2 separate regions of the Homo sapiens genome follow, and region 2 is linked to region 1. Evidence: promoter capture Hi-C in 16 types of primary human blood cells and fetal thymus (Javierre and others, 2016). All regions are on one chromosome and are shown on one strand. Each heading gives the region's core, a stretch centred on a gene start or on the middle of the fragment in contact. The rest is flanking DNA. Distances are from core to core; before and after follow the strand shown. Region 1 holds the start of PPP2R2A (protein phosphatase 2 regulatory subunit Balpha). Region 2 overlaps CDCA2 (cell division cycle associated 2).

The links. Contacts are between HindIII fragments. The CHiCAGO score rates a contact against its expected background, and 5 or more counts as called.
Region 2: a fragment that was not itself captured here is called in contact with the fragment with the promoter of PPP2R2A in region 1 in 1 of 17 cell types (megakaryocytes); the score reaches 5.5 in megakaryocytes.

What each region holds. Positions count from the first base shown.
Region 1 is chr8:26,289,393-26,294,361 of GRCh38, reverse strand. It overlaps PPP2R2A (protein phosphatase 2 regulatory subunit Balpha), which reads right to left and starts at 2,854. Exons shown (of 10, transcript NM_002717.4): 1 at 2,536-2,854; 2 at 622-696. The coding sequence starts at 2,542. RefSeq lists a silencer at 2,703-3,052. The HindIII fragment of the contact is 3,300 bases long and covers 1,767-4,969 here.
Region 2 is chr8:25,494,651-25,499,619 of GRCh38, reverse strand. The region is part of intron 13 of CDCA2 (cell division cycle associated 2); the gene reads right to left. Among named protein-coding and RNA genes, the nearest start is that of CDCA2, 38 kb to the right of the region's middle. The HindIII fragment of the contact is 1,573 bases long and covers 1,743-3,315 here.

The sequences.
Region 1 (4,969 bases), core at 1,605-4,104:
CAGTTTCTACCTGCACAAGAATATACGATTCCTAAAAGACAAGCGATATATGCATAGCATTGTTACTGTCTTATCCACCTAAATACCAGAAAGACAACAAAATGAATAATCTGAGCTATCATCTCTTCACAGAATATGCCAAGCAGCATCACACTCCCAAAGTGGACAAATTCAAAAGTAGTTAAAAAATCTTCCCATAAAAATCAAAGATGCCGTTAAGAATGTTTCTGAGCCAAATGTTGATGGCACCTATTTCAATTTACTTATCTAAAACCAATGTACAAACATAAAAATGCATCACCATTTATTTGTATGTGGAATTTACATAACAAAGAAACCCTTATATGGAGCTCAGAGCTTTCATGTGAGGATCTTATATGTCTCATCATCTACCGCTCCTTCCATGTAAATTCAGAGGAAAAAATAATAAAAACAAGGCGTAAATAACAAATGAAATTTAAGGCTGTTTTTCAGAAAGGTATCTTTTAAAACTGTTCTTACATTTCTTGGACAACAAAATCATCTTGAATTTATAGCAGTCTCGGCTTCAAGGAAATCCTCCAGTAGGAAACATTTCTGCAAAAATTATATATCCAAATTTTGCATTAAACGCTTTCTTACCTTCTGCTACATCATCATCTACTGCTCCTTTCACCTGAGAAAAACACCACTGAATATCATTCCCTCCTCCAGCTCCTGGAAAAAGAAAACATACCAATTAAAACCGAGTTCTGCTTATGTTGACTCTCGTAAACACAAAGATGGTATCCATGGTTGGCATGATACTAACAGCCTAGTTCTGCCCACACATACAACTACCACCAAGAGCACCAGTTTGGAAAGAGGTTAGTCCCCAATACTTGGTACTGCATTAGAAAGAAAAAAAAGATTCCAGGTACGAAATATTTAAAGGCACATGTTCTGTGGTCATTAAACATCTGTTCACAAACTTCCTGTCAAATACAGTAAAAGCCTTACATTCAGGCAAGACCTACCAGAAAAAAAGTAAATACCAAGAGTTAAAGAGTTTTCTTAAGTGTACAAAAAGCCTGCAGAAGAGTTAATAAGGTTAAACTACCATGAAACATAGAACGAAGAGAAAACTTCGGGAACATTACTGCCTGGGTAAGGAGTAATGATTCATATGAACCTTATCACCAAAGTGCACACACAGCAAACACTACACCCATTTCTTTGCATTCATTACCAGCAAATCACTGGCTCCAGACAGAGAGGAAAAGAAACCGAAATGAATGCTGCTAAAGAGACTGTCAAAGGAAGCTTGTTCTGCCTCCCTTCACCTCATCCCTTGACTCCAAAGGACCTGGCAAAGAATTCATTTTGCTAATGTCATCTCGTGCAAAACAATTTTAATCTCATTTCATTTTTCAACAAGGCCAACAAGCAACTTGTTTATAGCAAACCGTAAGTCAATCCGACATGTTAACTTTTTCAAAAGGTTTAATTATCTAAATAATGAATACAGCACGGAAAACTGGTCTCATCTCGGAATGTTTCTATTTCACGTGCAAGTACTGAGGTCGAAATGATTGAAAATGTCCTGGGGCTCTAGGGAGAAAGAAACTGAATCTAAATCTGCAACTGATTCTACTACATGAAGGAAAAGATTTAGCAATACCAACATGTACAAAAAGAATTCTCAAAGCAATTACATTACTTCTCTCTCCCCCATCACCCCTATTCCTTGCTAAATTTATTTCCAAACTGGTTTTCTCTCTACATCCTTTCCCCTCCCCTTCAAAGCTTCTACCTAAATCTCTCTCCTCCTTGCTATTTATATCTCTGAACTCCGCAACTATTTTAACTAACTCTACCAAACCCTTTTGGGAAAAGGACATCTGCAAAAAAGCTAACATGCTAAACGCAAAGTTTAAATTATTTTCATGCAACTTGCTGTACATGAAAGGCCTTGCACTCTTCGGCGGTAAAAGGGAAGAAACGGAAACGAAATGGTTCGAAACAAAAAATTTAGGCTTCCAGTCTCAAAAATATTGGCATCTACAGTGGGGAAAAAATACACATATGCCCCCACTGTATTTTAACTTATAAGGCGCTCTTCCTTCTCGAGGCAAAATAAATGTGTATATACACCCAAGAAGGCTTGCAGCAGGGGGAAAAATAGAAATTAAATGAAGACCTGCAGGAAAAAAAAATAAAGGCGGGGGGCAAGGTGGGGAGGTGGGAGAAGATCCACCAGGCTCCCGAGCGGGAGGGACAAATCTGCACGCACCCCCACCCCGCCCCACCCACGCCTCACCCCAAGCTCGCCGGCACACCCCACCCCCACCCCCGCCACGGCGCCAGCCCCGTTCTCCAAGCCCAGTGACTCTCACCGTGACCACTTGCCTCCCGGGAGCCCTCCCCGCCCCCACCCCACCCCTCTGGACCCTACTCCCTCAAACCCGAGGGGCGCCCTGTGGCTCTGCGCGAGGCGCGGGCGGTCGCTAGGGGGTGATGGAGGGAGGAATAAGGAAGCGGTGCCTTGTCAGGGGGCGAGGGGGATTTCTCCTTTACCTGCCATGTTGCGCTGCAAATGGTGACCCTGCTGGGTTCCTCGGGGTCTCCGCTTCCTGAACTCACCCCCCTCACCTGGGGATGGGGGGGTAGAGAGGGCGGATGGCGGCGGATGGCACCTGCGGGGGGAGGGGACGGGGGCCGGGGGGAAAAGGAAGGAGGGGCGGGCAGACCAGCCGGCAGGATGCTAGATTTCACTCTGGGGCTTCCCCGCTCGTGCTCTTTCTCCGGCAGCGGCGGCGGCGACTACGACAGCGACGGCGGCGGCGGCAGCGGCAGGGGCAGGCGACTCCACTTTCAAAATGGCGCCGGCTGGCCTGGCCAGTGACGTCACCTAGGGGGCGGAGCCGCCGGGCTGGGGCGGAGAGCGGAGGGGGAGGGGCGGGGGAGCGGCCGGGCGGCTCTTGGCCACGCCCCCTTCCTGCTGCGCCTGTGCCCCGCCCTCCGTGTCCCGGCCGGCAGGGCCTGCGCCGCGCCAGCGTCTCGCCATGGCATACCCTCTGTCCGCACCGCCTGCGCCAGGCCGCGGCTGTGTGCACCTAGCAGTGTCCCAGCCTCGAGCACTAGCGCCGGGGCTCTGGGGCGGGCTTAGGAGTCCAGTTTACGTGCTCTCCTGCAAGGATTCATGGGGTCCTATGTCTTCTAGGAATACCTGGGCCGGGCACGGTGGCTCATGCCTGTAATCCCAGCACTTTGGGAGGCTGAGGCGGGCGGATCACAAGGTCAGGAGTTCGAGACCAGCCTGGCCAACATGGTGAAACCCCGTCTCTACTTAAAAATATACAAAAATTAGCCAGGCGTGGTGGTGTGCGCCTGTAATCCTAGCTACTTGGGAGGCTGAGGTGTGAGAATTGCTTGAACCCGGGAGGCAGAGGTTGCAGTGAGCCGAGATCGCACCACTGCACTCCAGCCTGGGTGACAGAGCAAGACTCCGTCTCAAAAACAAAAAACAAACAAACAAAAAACCCCGTACTGCTTCTTAGGAAATTGTCACTTTGGATTAGCCCTGAGACCACAAAGAAAGGGACAGCGGTGCAGACTTACTGCTCAGCCGGGGTGAAAGTTCACGGGGTTCAGAGGGACACGATTGGGCTGGTTCTATCTGGGTGAATTAAATTACCTTCTCGTGGGCCCCAGGATCCAAGGCGGGAGTCCTAGGCACTGCGGACACTAAGAGTGATTTCTAAGAGAAACCTGAGTTTGTGATGAGAGGGTATGGCCCAAGAAGTGACCCGGCGTCTCTCCAGCTAAACGTGTTGGACTGCGTGCTTAAGAGCTGGGCTCAGGGCCGGGCGCGGTGGCTCACGCCTGTAGTCCCAGCACTTTGGGAAGCCGAGGTGGGAGGATCGCTTGAGGCCAGGAGTTCCGAGTTCGGCCTGGAGAACATAGGGAGACCCATCTCTCCAAAAAAAATTTTTTTTTTTAAATTAGCCAGGTATGATGGCGTGCCTATAGTCCCAGCTACTAGAAGGCTGCAGTAGGAGGACTGCTTGAGCCCAGTAGGTCAAGGCTGCAGTGAGCTATGTGATCACATCACTGCACTCCAGCCTGGGAGACAGAATGCGATCCTGTCAAAACAAAAACAAAAACACAAAAAGTGCTGGGCTCTGAAGCCAGGCTGCCTAATATGATTCCAAGGCTCAGGAGATGAAGATGACAGTCCTACCTGATAGGATTGTTGGGGAGATGAAATGACTTAATTTGAGCACATGATAAATGTTAGCTGCCGTTATTATTAGATTTGTATTGAAAGCATCGTCAGTAAGGTTAAGAGGTAGAAGGAAAAAAATGAACAGGAAATGCCAGTCATCAGCTATGAGGGGATGTGCACTTCTGTTGAAAGATGCTCTAATGATGCAGTTGCTATATACAGCACACTTTACATATCCCATTCCATCTCCACGATACTCCTAGGAGATAGATATGCACATTTTACACGTGAAAAACACCTGTAAAAGCATCCAGAATTTGGCCTAAGGCTGAATGGAGTGATAAAGGCGTTTGGAAACCAAGAAGGGGGAGTTAAAGATATTTACACGTCCTCCCCACCATCTCCACTTTCTACCATATTTTTGATTTCCAGGACAGTTGAACTGTAATGCAACGTTCAAAATTCCTTCAAAGGAACAACTGCACCACTGCATGATCATTCCTCTGTTTCTGCATGAATATTTCCCACGTTACCAATGAATTAATCAAAACTAAAAATCCACCCTCTATGTGTCATCTTTTGGCTACCTGTACAACAGGTACAAAACTTCAGTGCACTGCGTGCTGTATTTTCTTCAATGCTGGTGTTTTTCATAAATGTATTTCTCTGGGTATGCCTTCATTTATTTTCCTTTTTGCTTGCTCTGCCCTTCTTTGGTGGTTCAATCCCAGACTCTCCAGGGAGAGCTCTCCATCTTAACCAGAACCCAGAAGGAAGGAGAGA
Region 2 (4,969 bases), core at 1,280-3,779, 790 kb after region 1:
TTTTAAAAACTAATTCAGGCCAGCACGGTGGCTCATGCCCTTAATCCCAACACTTTGGGAGGCCGAGGTGGGTGGGTTGCTTGAGCTCAGGAATTCGAGACAAGCCTGGGCAACATGACGAAACCCCGTCTCTACCAAAAATACAAAAATTAGCTGGGTGTGGTGGTAAGCCATGTACTCCCAGCTACTAGGGAAGCCTGAGGCAGGAGAATCACTTGAGCCTGGGAGGCGGAGGCTGCAGTGAGCTGAGATCGAGCCACTGCACTCCACCTGGGTGACAGAGAGAGACTCTGTCTCAAAAAAAAAAAAAAAAAAAAAAAAAAAATTCATGGACATGGCAACAAATCACACCATATAGGAGAGGTTACGGTGATCAAGCACACACTTGCCTGCCCCTGGTGCTTACTTATCTGCTGGCTCCACTTTTAGCTCTTGCAGTTAGCTCCCTCTCTCTGATAAAGGGCTCATACTGCTATATTTTTAACTTTTGATTATGGAAAATTTCAAACACCCAAAAAGTACAGAACCCCATGTACCCATCAGCTACTTCAACAATTACTAGCACATAGAAATCATGATTCATCTATACTCCCCTAACCCCAGATTATTTTAAAGCAAATCCCAGACGTTACACATCATTTCATCTGAAAATCCTGCAGTGTCTTGAAGAGTTAAAGGTTCTTTTTCTATTAGAGACAATTACAAATATGGTTCAACAATAAAAAGAACTACTGATACACATAACAACCTGGACAAATCTCCAGAGAATTATGCTGAGTGAAAAAGCCAGTCCCCGAGTTACACAGTACATGACTCCATTTGGGTAACCTTTTCGAAATGACAAAACTGTAGGAATGAAGAAAGATTAGTGGTTGCCAGGGGATGAGGCGGGGTTATGGGTAGGAAGTGGATGTAGCTACAAAGGGCCATGGGAAAGCTGTCTGGATCTCGGCTGTATCAATATCTTGGCTGCGACCCTGAACTATGGTTTCGCAAGATGTCACAATTGGGGGAAACTAGGTAAAGGGTACTTGGGATCTTTCTGCATTACTTCTTAGAAGAGTGTGTGTATCCAAAATGATCACAAAACTTAAAATGTACACCAGGGATAGAGGCTCATATCTGTAATCCCAGCACTTTGGGAGGCCTGGGGGGCGGGGGGGGGGTGCAGATTACCTGAGGACAGGGGTTTGAGACCAGCCAGGCCAACATAGTGAAACCCCGTCTCTACTAAAAATACAAAAATTAGCTGAGCATGGTGGTGCACACCTGTAGTCCCAGCTACTGGGGAGGCTGAGGCAGGAGAATCACTTGAACCGGGGAGGAGGAGGTTGCAGTGAGCCGAGATCGTGCCACTGAACTCCAGCCTGGGCGACAGAGCGAGACTCCATTCCAACAAAACAAAACAAAACAAAATGTAATTCAACAAAACACAAAAACCATGATGGCAATTTTCCCTAGTATCTCCTCAAAGTTCAAATTTCTCCCTTGGCCCATAATTTCTTTTTCTAAAACAACTGTTCTAATCAGGACCCCAATAAGATCTCCACACATACCATTTGATTCATGTCTTTTAGTCTCTTTTATTCTATGGCTCCTTTTTTACTTCCCTTGACATTTATTTGGTGAGTAAATTGAGGCATTTTTCCTATAGAATTAGCCAAGTCCTAGATTTGGCTCACTACAGTAGGTGAGTCTATGTTCCTCCATGTCCTATAAATTGGTAATTAGATCTAGAAGCTTGATTAGATTCAGTTTTGATGGGCAAATTTGAATACAATTGTATAACCAACAAATTAAAAATTGCATATAGCATGGTGGATGAGAGGTTTTGACATATGTACACATTGGGAAATGATTAAACTAACATATCCACCACTTCACATAATTATTTTATGGCAAGAACACTTACAATGTCATCTCTTAGCAATTTTCCCATATACATTATTATTTCCTAGTCACCATGCTGTACAACAGATCTCCAGAACTTACTCATCCTAACTGAAACTTTGTACCCTTGAACCAACATCTCCTCATCCCCCACCACTCAAGCCACTAGCCCCCCTGACAACCACCATTCTATTCTCAGCTTCTGTGAGTTTTTTTTTTTTTTATTTTTTATTTTTTAAAGATTCCACATGTAAGTAAGATCTTCTTGTCTCTCTGTGCCTGGACTATTTTACTTAACGTAATGCCCTTAAGGTCCTTCTATGCTGTCAAAATGACAGGATTTCTTTAAGGCTGAATAGCATTTTGTTGTGTGTGTACACACATATTTTTTCTTTATCCATTCACCTGTTGATGGATACTCAGCTTGAGTCTGTAACTTGGTTATCGCTCTTTGATATACTGATTTCCTTTGGATACATACCCAGAAGTGGGATTTGCTGGATCATATGGTAGTTCTATTTTTAATTTTTTGAGGAACCCCCGTAATGTTTCCCACAATGGCTTGTGAAAATGGATTATTTGGAGTCACTGTGTCATAAACAACTAGAGTCCAGAGACCAGGGGAAAAAAAGCACTTGGGACTGTAAGACTAAATTTAACTACCACCATCACTCACCAGAGTTTACCAGCTCCCCAAAATTTTGCTTAGGGCCAGTGAGTTTTTTTTCTAAATAATATGTAACATTTCTTTTTCTACTAAAAACCCCAACTTTCTACGTTCTTAGGACATATCAAAGACCACCTCGGTCTGTGTGTTTGCCCCAAACTGCAATTACGTTTTCCCAAATAAAACATTTTGTTTAGAGATTCAGTTCTATATTTTTAGTTGACTTTGCCAATCAAAACAGGCTGTAGCAATTTACATTCCTATTGATAGTGTACAAAGGATTCCCTTTTCTCCATATCCTCTCCAACACTTGTAATCTTTCATCTGCTTGATAATAGCCAGTGATATCTCATTGTGGTTTTAATTTGCATTTCCCTGATGATTAGTGATGTTAGCCATTTGCATGTCTTTTGAGAACTGTCTATTCTGGACCTTTGACCATTTTTAAATTGGTGTGTTCTTGCTAATGAGCTGTTTGAGTTTCTTATACATTTTGGCTATTAACCCCTTATCAGATGTATGGTTTGTAGTTACAGTATCTTCTCCCATTCTATACGGTGTTTCTTTCCTCTGTTGATTGTTACTATGTCACATCAGCCTTTTATCAAACGTTTTAAGCAGCTTTGTTGAGCATTTCTTTTATTACCTGAAATTCTTCTATAAACAACTTTTCCCTCATCAACTATTTGTTTACCTGAAATAGAGCTCAAATTTTATTTTCCTGTTATCAGAAAAATGAGTGGGTATCCTAGCAAGCTTCTAAAGTGTCCATTAATTAAAAAAAAGTAATAAACTTATGTGTTATTTCATGATTGTACTTCAATGCTTTGCAATGCTGATGATCATATCTGGTCAGTGTAAGTCCCTTGAAGATGGATTTGTGTCTGTTAACATGACACCAGTAGTTTTTTTTAGCATCCTTCCTTGTACTCTGGTACAGACCCAACCAGGCTCACTTATTAAATTTGTTGTTGTAAATCTGAAAGCAGCCATTTCACCAAGGGACCCTAACCCCTTTTAACTGGTATGTCTAATGATAATCTATGCACCAGGGATGCTCATGAATTTTAAGCTTTATCAATGGATAGAGCTGGACAATTCTTTTAAATGGAAAATAAAATGAGTTTCTACTCTTATTTCCAATTCAAATTTAGTCTTCCAAAGTTTTAAATTTGTTGGATTTAAAAATATATCTTTTGTCTCTGAGTGCACATCTTGATTCTTAATGATGGGAAAAATTGCTTATTTGCTTTATTCTAAATTCAGTGCTTCTATTGAGTGTTTCATACTGTTTATAATTTCTTTGCAGTTATTTTTGTCCTTAAGATTTATCCCCCTTATAGGGCCAGGCGCAGTGGCTCACGCCTGTAATCCCAGCACTTTGGGAGGCCGAGGTGGGCGGATCACGAGGTCAGCAGATCGAGACCATCCTGGCTAACATGGTGAAACCCAGTCTCTACTAAAAAATAAAAAATAAAAAATTAGCCGGGCGTGGTGGCAGGTGCCTGTATTCCTAGCTACTCGGGAGGCCGAGGCAGGAGAATGGCATGAACCCGGGAGGCGGAGCTTGCAGTGAGCCGAGCTCACGCCACTGCACTCTAGCCTGGGTGACAGAGCAAGACTCCATCTCAAAAAAAAAAAGATTTATCCCACTTATATTCAAATTTCTAGGTTTGAAAAAATTCTTAATGAAGTTAAGCCACCAACTTGACATAGTAAGAATTTGTCAAATTTTGCTTTCGCTTATTAGAGATTGTTCTCTTTCTACTAGTTTTAGTTTTGTTTCATAGTCAGGTAAAACATTTAAATGGTCCCACAATCAAAACTGAAAAACAGTACACACTTAACGAAGTCTAGCTTGCATTCACATTCTCTCCTGTCTCCTCCCTTCTCCCTATAGCCAGTTTTTTATTTCTCTTTGGTTTATTCTTCAACTGAAAAATCAAAACTATATGTGTACTCTACTTTCTTAGACAAAGGGTAATGTATTAGTTTGTAAGGCTACTGTAATAAAATGTCACAAACTAGGTAGTTCAAACAACAGAAACTAATTTTCTCCCAGTTCTGGAGGCTAGCAGTGCAAGATCAGGGTGTTGGCAGGGCTGGTGTCTCTTGGGGCCTCTCTCCTTGGCCTTCAGATGGCCACCTTCTTGCTGTGTCCTCACATGGTTATTTCTCAATGCACACTCGTCCCTGGTGTCCTTATGTGGGTCCGAATTTCCTCCTCTTATAAGAACACCAGTCAGAGTGGATTAGGACCCACCCTATGGATCTCATTTTAAATTAATAACTATTTTAAAGACCAAATCTCCAAATACAGTCACATTCTGAGATCCTGGGAGTTAGGACTTCAATATATAAATTTGGGAAGGGACACAATTCAGTCCATAACCAGTAGTTGACCACATATAT